Regions from separate parts of the Homo sapiens genome. Here regions 2 and 3 are each linked to region 1. Evidence: promoter capture Hi-C in 16 types of primary human blood cells and fetal thymus (Javierre and others, 2016). All regions are on one chromosome and are shown on one strand. The core of a region is centred on a gene start or on the middle of the fragment in contact, and the rest is flanking DNA. Distances in the headings are between cores, read along the strand shown.

Region 1 (2,916 bases), core at 110-2,609:
AGATAACTTTTCAGATCATGCTTAACTTGAAACTTATCAGAAGCATTACTTTTTTTTTTTTTTTTTGTAACTAGTCAAAGTAACATACCTCCCTGAAATGTGTGACAAATATAATCCCCAAAAGAAATCTCTTTCCATGGTCCGGACCTTCTGATACGTTCTGAAACTTCACAATTCTTCTCATTTTCCCCAGTTAATTGAAGCATTCTGATGCTTCGTCCTTGGAGGTCTTATTTCTTTAGATAAGACTGCTGTTGTCTAGTGTCTTCTGAGTTGTCTAGTGTATTGGAATCACATAAGACTATTTTGAAAGAGAATCCTGGATGCAAATTGAAATGGATACTAGATAAAGAATGATGTAATCCTGGAACCCCTGCAAACACTAAAAATACACGGGGAAATTCTGAACTCTGTTTATGAATAAATACTCCTCTATTAAGTGACAATCCCAGGAGTGACAGGGATATCTGACTCATTTACTTTTGTAGCATCTCACCACAATTAAAGTAAATCATTTCTTGAAAGAAATGGACACTATTCTCTACAAAGCATGAGAATTTAAAATGTTTTGCCCAAATCTTGGCATTTCATGTTAGAATAAACTTTGTTTGGAGTGCTTTGCATGCTACCATATAAAATGGGTTTAGTGAAGAGCTTTTCCTGACAGTGACAAGTGGTTAATCAATTCCAGTTGCAAATGACAGCAAAAAAAATACACATAGCTTGCCACGTTTGCTGCTTTAATTATAATTTATTAGTCATTCTATTTCCTGAGAGAATTTAGTCTGGTTAGAATGCCCTTCATTGTTAAAGTTTGCTTTAAAATATTAAAGAAAATAATTATATACAAGTAATTACTTTGGCTAGTAGAAATGAAGTTTCTCAAAATACTCTTAGTAAGCCACTACCTATTTACTTCTTAAATAACAACTGCTACAAGATCTACGAACTTGCAAAAAATAAAGCTGAAAATCCTCCACAAATTGATGCAGCCAACAGCATTTGCTACTTTAAGTGACAATTTTTCAAACTACCCACTTAAAATCAAAGTATAAATATAATCTGCCTTCCAGAAATACTAGTCATATGAATTATCTAGGAGGGATTTTCTTTAAATATTAGGAACAAATTCATGTACTTTTACCTGAAATTCCACCATAGATCTCTTCTGCTATCCTAGCCGCTTCTTTTCTATTTCCTTTGACGATATAGAAATGGGTTAGGAGAGCCAAAAAAACTTTAATTAAAAGCTTAAAGAAAAAAAACGTAGCAAACATTGTAATAAAAATGTTTTTAAAGCCATAGAAAACAGGACCATCTTCCATTTTGGCTTATGCTCTGTATAGGGTCCTAGGACTGTAAAATTTCACTGAGTTATAATTGGTATCATATGACATCTATTTTAAACCTTCTAGCACTCAGTGCTCCTGTTACCGAGATCTCTGTAGGTTCTAATCTAACTGATTTGGCGACTGCATGTGCTGACTCCACAGCAGTGTTAAATAAACTAAAGAAACTTCCTTCTAACCAGAAACATCCAATAGTTCTAGAACTACATAACTCAGTACTATCTAACAGATAAGATTCATATCCAAACATTTTATATTCCTAAACCCCTATTTTTCCTATTTTATGTTAGAAAGCAGGGTTGGAAAGATAGAAACTTCTTGGCTTCCACAGAAACAAAGCAAGTTATTTGACATACAAAAGAAGTGCAAATATGCTGTATGTTCTAAGTGGGAAATACTACTCCCTGGAGCATTTCATTTTCTCTTAATTCTGAAGTTTATAGAGGATTAAATCCAAATCTAAAATATGACCAGTTAAAAAAGACCATTTACCTGGCCGGGCGCGGTGGTTGACTCCTGTAATCCCAGCACTTTGGGAGGCTGAAGCAGGCGGATCACCTGAGGTCAGGAGTTTGCGACCAGCCTGGCCAACATGGCGAAACCCCCGTCTCTACTAAAAGTACAAAAATTAGCTGGGCGTGGTGGCAGGTGCCTGTAATCCCAGCTACTCAGGAGGCTGAGGCAGGAGAATTGCTTGAACCTGGGAGGCGGAGGTTGCAGTGAGCCGAGATCGCGCCACTGCACTCCAGCCTGGGTGACAAGAGCAAGATTCTGTCTCAAAAAAAAAAAAAAAAAAGACAATTTACCCTAAAGCTGTATGTATGTATGTATGCATGTATGCACGTATGTATGTATTTAGTTTTAAGATGGAGTCTTACTCTGTTGCCCAGGCTGGAGTGCAATGGTGCGATCGCGGCTCACTGCAACCTCTGCCTCCTGGGTTCAAGCGATTCTCCTGCCTCAGCCTCCCAAGAAGCTGGGATTACAGGCATGCGTCACCACGCCTGGATAATTTTCGTATTTTTAGTAGAGACGAGGTTTCGCCATGTTGGCCAGGCTGGTCTCGAACCCCTGACCTCAGGTGATCCACCCACTTTGGCCTCCCAAAGTGCTAGGATTACAGGTGTGAGCCACTGCACCCGGCCAAGCCTGTATTTAATAAAAGGCCTATCTTGGATGCCTCTCCAAGTAAGTGTCACACTAGAAGCATCAGACTACTCGCCATGGTAGTTCCATCTGGGACAAGGTCCCATGGCAAGGTTCCCTCCTGATCATTCACTTGCATTTCAAGCATTGGTAAAGGTGGTGCCCATTTCTGAAAAATGTGGGCTATCCTTGATCATGGAAGAGTCATAGTGAAATGGACAAAAGAGATGCCCTAGGTTCTGGATGAAGTACCCAAATATTTCATGAATCAACCTTCTCTAGTTGGGCAATTTTCTCTTATCAGCTGGCCAACACAAGTGAAATGGGTTTATTTTTAGTTTTCCTCATCACTCTAGGTCTCTGCCTTCATTCTTGGCTATGTTCGATTTTGTAAATTTTAAAAATCAATTGAAAAGACAAG
Region 2 (2,916 bases), core at 261-2,760, 1.7 Mb before region 1:
CTTCAGCAAGAATCTTGTCAGGTTGGTTTAGACAGAATCCCCCTTACCCCTGATGTTTCCTCTTAATAATTTTCCATCCACTGACCCCCCTACCTTGCTCCTTGGCTATAAATTCTCACTTTTCCATGCTACAATTGAAGTTGAGCCCAATCTCTCTTCCCCACTGCAAGACCCTGTTGCAGTGGTACCTATGTCTATCTCAATGGTCCTGAATAAAGTCTTCCTTACCATGCTTTAACAAGTGACAAGTGTCATTAAATAATTTTTTTTTTTTGAGACCAAGTCTTGCTCTGTCGCTAGGCTGGAGTGCAATGGCTCGATCTCAGCTCACTGCAACCTCCGCCTCCCGGGTTCAAGCGATTCTCCTGCCTCAGCCTCCCAAGTAGCTGGGATTACAAGCACGTGCCACCACGCCTGGCTAATTTTTTGTATTTTTAGTAGAGACGGGGTTTCACCGTGTTAGCCAGGATGGTCTCGATCTCCTGACCTCATGATCCGCCTGCCTCGACCTCCCAAAGTGCTGGGATTACAGGCATGAGCCACCACGCCCAGCCAAATAATTTTTTCTTTAAAAAGGTATTATATAATCCTTAAACATTTTAGCCCTATAATAGACAGCAAGAAAAAAGTAACCCCTGACAGCTCTGAGCTGCCCCGGCAGTCACAGCTGGGCCTTGGTGCTGCGTGGAACATAAATACTTCACAGAACACCATCAGACGTGGCCACTCTTTGACCAGATGGATCAAGACAAAAACAAGACTCCTTCGTAATCACGTGGGAATGCTGAAAAAACGTAAACATTGTCCAAACCACAAAAATGACCAAACATCCCCTATCCCAGTTAATGAGTCACTGGTCTTGTCTCCCCTCCTTTTAGGTAAGATTTATTATGATACTTAATCATACAATCGCCCTCCTTCCTGCCAGCACCCAGTCCAGAGTATTGGATTGGATACTCTGTTTCCCTGAACCTTTCCCCAAATTACCTTGGGGTAAGGCATCAGCAAAGGAGGCTGTCACATTCGTTCAACCATCACTGTGCTTTTACTGGCCCTTTGCAGGCAAAGAATGAGAATATGCACAGATGAGAAGTCCAGGATGCACAAGACCACTCAATTAACATTTACTACTTTCATATCAACTGATGCATGCTAGGATGCTAAAAACACTTTTTGAATTAATTACTGCGTTAAATAGATTCACATTTATGTCTACAGTTATGTGAACATCTAGCTGAGCACTGTCTTGACTGTCCTGAGTAGAAGCAGAAAAGATAAGTTGTAAAGTACATCAACAAACTTTGCTGCTAAAAAACGAAAGTGCAGTTTCTTTCTCTCGGGCCCGGGGCGGGGCCATGGCTCCTCCTCTAGGAAGCCGCGCGAGCGCAGTCCCACGGCAGCCATTTCCCTAGCGCGCATGCACTGGGTCCCAGGACCACGTGCGCCGGCCTGTGGGCTTGGATTGGCTGAGCCTTGACGTTGTCCCAGTCCCGGTGATCGGAAGTTCTCCGTGGGCACTGGGCGGCTGAAGGCTCCGGAACTGCGCCTGCGCTTTTCGGTGAGTCATGCTTCAGGTTTGCCAGGGCCTGTGTCCCGCAAAAAGGCGAGCCCTTATTCCCAGCGGAAGCCCACCCCGGCTCGCGGCAGCTTTCCGGTGCGCCCTGGGCGGCGTAGATCCGAAGGTGCTCGCACCCCCGCCCCTTCCTCTCCGACTGTCGAGGTCGCCAGAGTGGGCTGAACCCTCGGGACTGTCGCTGTTTGTGTGCTGGGTGCCGGGCCGTCATCCCAAGATGATTAGCGGCAGGCTTTGCATGTTGCTCGACCCCACCCACCGGAACTCGAACCCGGGCTAGACCGGGCAGTTGGGCTGGTCCCTTCCTCTCGCTGCACCTTTACTAGGGGTCACCATTAAGGGAAATGGTCCTAGTGCAGTGCTGAGTGGCTGTTCAGTAACCGCTACACCGCTGCCAACATTTGGCATCGTTTCTCTCCATAGAGGGCGGGGCTCCCTGTGAAGCTGGGGAGCTGTTAAGTGGGTTAGGGCTAGAAAGTTACAGTTTCTCTTTAGGCTTTAAAGAGATCTAAAGATCTGAACAGATCTAGGTTATTTTTGACTTGTTACAAACTTCTGGAAACATTGTTTCCAGACCTTTCCTCTCGTTCTTCTCAGGGTTTAGGCCATTTTTGTGCAGATGTGTGCACCTTGCTTACTATAATATTAGCTAATCTTTATAAGTTTTTATATGGATCCAATACCATATTTCGTGCCTACTTTTCCTGGCACTGTATACACTTTTTGGTATAGGTATGCACCTAAGCAAGCATTATCCATATTAGCATCAGTTCTAGAACCGTGGCGTCCCAATAATGATAGCCATTAGTTACATAAGGCTTGATCACTTGAAATGTGGCTAGTCCGAATTGAGATGTGCTGTAAGTGTAAGACACAGTGAATTTTCGAGAATTAGCATGAAAAAGAATGTAAAATATCTCAATTTGTTTATATTAATCACATGTTGAAATGACTATTCTGGATACACTGGGTTAAATAAAATGTATAATTAATTTCACCAATTTTTATTTTTTAACATGACTACTGGAAAATTTTAAATCATATTTGTGGTTTACATGTTATATATATGTTGCACAGCCCTGCTCTAGAAAAGGGTCAACAAACTATGGCCTGCAGCCAAATCCAGCCTGCCTGTTTTTGTAAACAAGTGTTACCAGAGCAAGATCATGCCTATCCATTTATGTTATTTTCTGTATCTGCTGTTGCTGCTACAATAGCAGCAGAGTTGAGTAGTCCATAGAGATTGTATGGCCTACAAAGCCTAGAATATATACCTTCTGATCTTTAACAGAAAAAGTGTGCTGACCCCCTGCTGTAGAACAATGCCTGGTTTGGTAGATATT
Region 3 (2,854 bases), core at 1-2,500, 1.6 Mb before region 1:
CCTGCGATTACCTCTTCCAAGTGCTCTGCACCACCACCCTGTCTCTAGTGCTGAGAATTTCTCCCTCCTCTGATTCCCCAGGCCCAAGGAGCGCTAACAGTATGGCCCTGTTACTAGCCCACCCAGGGAACTCCACCATCCTTTGTGCATACCCTGAATAAGTCAACCTTTATTAAAGGGTTCTTAGATGACCTTGACCGTGAGAGCCATCTGCCTTCTGCCTGGATCCCAACTGCTGCTGTCAGATGCCCAGATCATATTGGATCCCAGGGCTGTCATCAACAGGTAGACCAGATAGAGAGCTCCTTCTGTGCACAGTAGAGGAGAGAAACAGGCTTTCAGGTTAATTTGAGAATTTGAAAGAGTTCTTTTACTTGGAGTAGGACTCCAAGGGTAATAAAGTTTGCATTAACATGCACTAAATTCTTTTGTTGTGAAATTTGAGAGTCAGGATTGCTCTGAGCTCATTTAATAGAATTATTATCATATTTATTGAGTCAGTACAAAGCAAAGAACACTTTAAAACCCCTTTAACTGTTTTTGTTAAGTTAAATAAGAAAACTTAAGGTTGGTAATGACTAGGATTTTTTTTTTTTTTTTACCTTCTTAGGCCTAGCTCAGCCGGCTCCTGAACTTGCAGTCTTTCAGAAAGAACTACGGAAAGCCGAAAAGGCTATAGTGGTTGAGCATGAGGAGTTCGAAAGCTGCAGGCAAGCTCTGCACAAACAACTGCAAGACGAAGTGAGTATTGCTCTTCTTCAGTTCTAGTGTGATACCAGTACACTTCATAGTTACGTAAACTTGGCACAAGTCACACTAGTGTAAATCAGATTTATTTTAACATCAAACATTACTCCCCCAAATATGCTAAAGGTATCCTTTCTCATCTGAGAAAATTCTGCAGTGATAACGTGACTTTATATTCGTAATAGTAATAAAATGGAGAAGAAAGCAAACTCACCTAAACATAAAATTTTCTGAGTGCCTGATGGTGCCCACTGTTATCTCTCGATTCTCACCCTGATAAGTATTACAAACATTCACTGTCTTCTGATTTCTGCCTGCATGCCCTAGAGTTCTTTGATATGACTGAAAAAGATGGTGAAGAACTTGTTTGTGTGTTCTGCTTGTGTTTTTTTTTAATAGGGACCCTGTTGTTTACTGTCATAAAGCTTCTTGGAATTGGCAGAACAAAAAGAGTACAAACATGATAAGAGAACTTTTCCTTTTGAAGCAAGCTGTGATTTGTTTTACATTGATTTCTTTTCCTATTCTGAATCTTTTCAGATTGAGCATTCTGCACAGCTGAAGGCCCAGATTCTAGGTTACAAAGCTTCTGTAAAGAGTTTAACTACTCAGGTTGCCGATTTAAAATTGCAACTGAAGCAAACTCAGACAGGTTAGAGACGTTTTAACCCATAAATATTTTTGTATGTATAAAGCTTCTGGTGTCTGTGAAAATGTAATGATCATAATTTATTGAATATTAATTATTGTTTTAGGGGAAAAGCCATAGAAATATGTGTCATCTTAGAAGTAAAACTCCCTATCCATTTTGGTAATACCATCTGGATCATCAGCAAAAGTATTTTGCTTCATAGGTGCCTCATGGCTTGGGAGAGTCTCATGCCCCAATAGGAAAGGCGTGGTGGTAACATAGAAGTCCCCATATTCATTATAGGATTTCCTTTTTTATTTGTTACCCCAATGTTAACACCAATTCAGTAGTTTTACGGATTCCTTGATAGATATATAAATATACAGGACAAGCAGGGTGGTTTAGCAAAAAGAATATTGCCTTCAGAATCAGAACTGTTCTTCTTTTGGACCCGTTTTGAAGTTGTTTGACCTTGGGCATGTTACTTTAACTTCCTTGGGCCTCAGTCTCCTCATTTGTAATGGGGATAATAATACCTACTGAGCCATGATGAAAAAGATGAAATGGGTTTCAGTCCAGTGCCTGGGACATAAAAGACACTCAGGAAATGGTTATTGGTATCATTTTATTATTGTGTCTTCACTGTGGATGCATCTCTGCCCCTTCCTACTTCGTAAGAAGGATATTAAAGTTCAGATACTTTATTCTTCAGTTGCTTTCAAGTTCAAAGAAAGTACGTATGTGTTACCAGTTCAACTGGGTCTGAGCCTTCCTTGTTCCCACCTGCATTGTTTCCTCATCAGCTCCTTGCTCTCTTCTACCAGCACTTGTTTTATTTTTATCTCTACTCGTTTCTGCTTTTTTCTGTTCCTCATTTTCTTTCAGTTCTGTTTGTGAAACTTCTCACAGCTGAAATCATAGCAGTCTCCTATCAATAAAAAATAGTTGAATGAGGATAGAACTCTTTCGCATGCATGTGTTGCCGAGGGCAAGCTTCTTTCTTGTAGCATCACGGGGAGGCATTGCAGGAGAGAGGGGCAGGTGCACTGGCTTTGCATTAGGAAAGCCCAGTAGCTCTTAGACTTGCTAACCGTGTGACCCAGCCTCAGTAAGCTTTAGTCCCCCCATCTGTAAAATGGGAGCAGTGAGAGTTTCTTGACCACAGTGTTGTTGTGAATGCAGGTCCTCACTTCCTTATATGAAACTCGGGCCATATGCTGTGGATTTCGCAATAGCCCTGGGAGTTCTGAACAGCATCCTATAGTAAAGCACATTAATTATTTTGCAGTCAACTGTATGAATATTCATGCTGGGATAAATAAAGATTATAAATGGGTTTACATCAGTTCAGGTCAAACTTTTCAACCAAATGAGTTCAAGTCTGGTTGGGCTTTGCCACCAAATAAATTATGAATAAATTTTCAGTTCTCAGAGCCTTGTGGCTTTCAAAATTGTGCATAATGGATTCTGAAATTA

The links. Contacts are between HindIII fragments. The CHiCAGO score rates a contact against its expected background, and 5 or more counts as called.
Region 2: a contact is called between the fragment with the promoter of TCEANC here and the fragment with the promoter of ASB11 in region 1, in 1 of 17 cell types (neutrophils). The highest score is 5.7, in neutrophils.
Region 3: a contact is called between a fragment that was not itself captured here and the fragment with the promoter of ASB11 in region 1, in 1 of 17 cell types (total CD4 T cells). The highest score is 5.7, in total CD4 T cells.

Annotation. Positions count from the first base shown.
Region 1 is chrX:15,314,281-15,317,196 of GRCh38, forward strand. ASB11 (ankyrin repeat and SOCS box containing 11) reads right to left here and starts at 1,360. Exons shown (of 7, transcript NM_080873.3): 1 at 1,145-1,360. The coding sequence starts at 1,325. The HindIII fragment of the contact is 9,481 bases long and covers 1,249-2,916 here.
Region 2 is chrX:13,651,631-13,654,546 of GRCh38, forward strand. TCEANC (transcription elongation factor A N-terminal and central domain containing) reads left to right here and starts at 1,511. Exons shown (of 5, transcript NM_001297563.2): 1 at 1,511-1,558. LOC107985657 (a long non-coding RNA gene) reads right to left here and starts at 1,809. Exons shown (of 1, transcript NR_171573.1): 1 at 867-1,809. RefSeq lists enhancers at 1,194-1,383, 1,644-1,733 and a silencer at 1,312-1,623. The HindIII fragment of the contact is 12,822 bases long and covers 1-2,916 here.
Region 3 is chrX:13,757,050-13,759,903 of GRCh38, forward strand. It overlaps OFD1 (OFD1 centriole and centriolar satellite protein), which reads left to right. Exons shown (of 23, transcript NM_003611.3): 14 at 611-741; 15 at 1,288-1,399. Among named protein-coding and RNA genes, the nearest start is that of OFD1, 24 kb to the left of the region's middle. RefSeq lists an enhancer at 2,305-2,394. The HindIII fragment of the contact is 161 bases long and covers 1,171-1,331 here.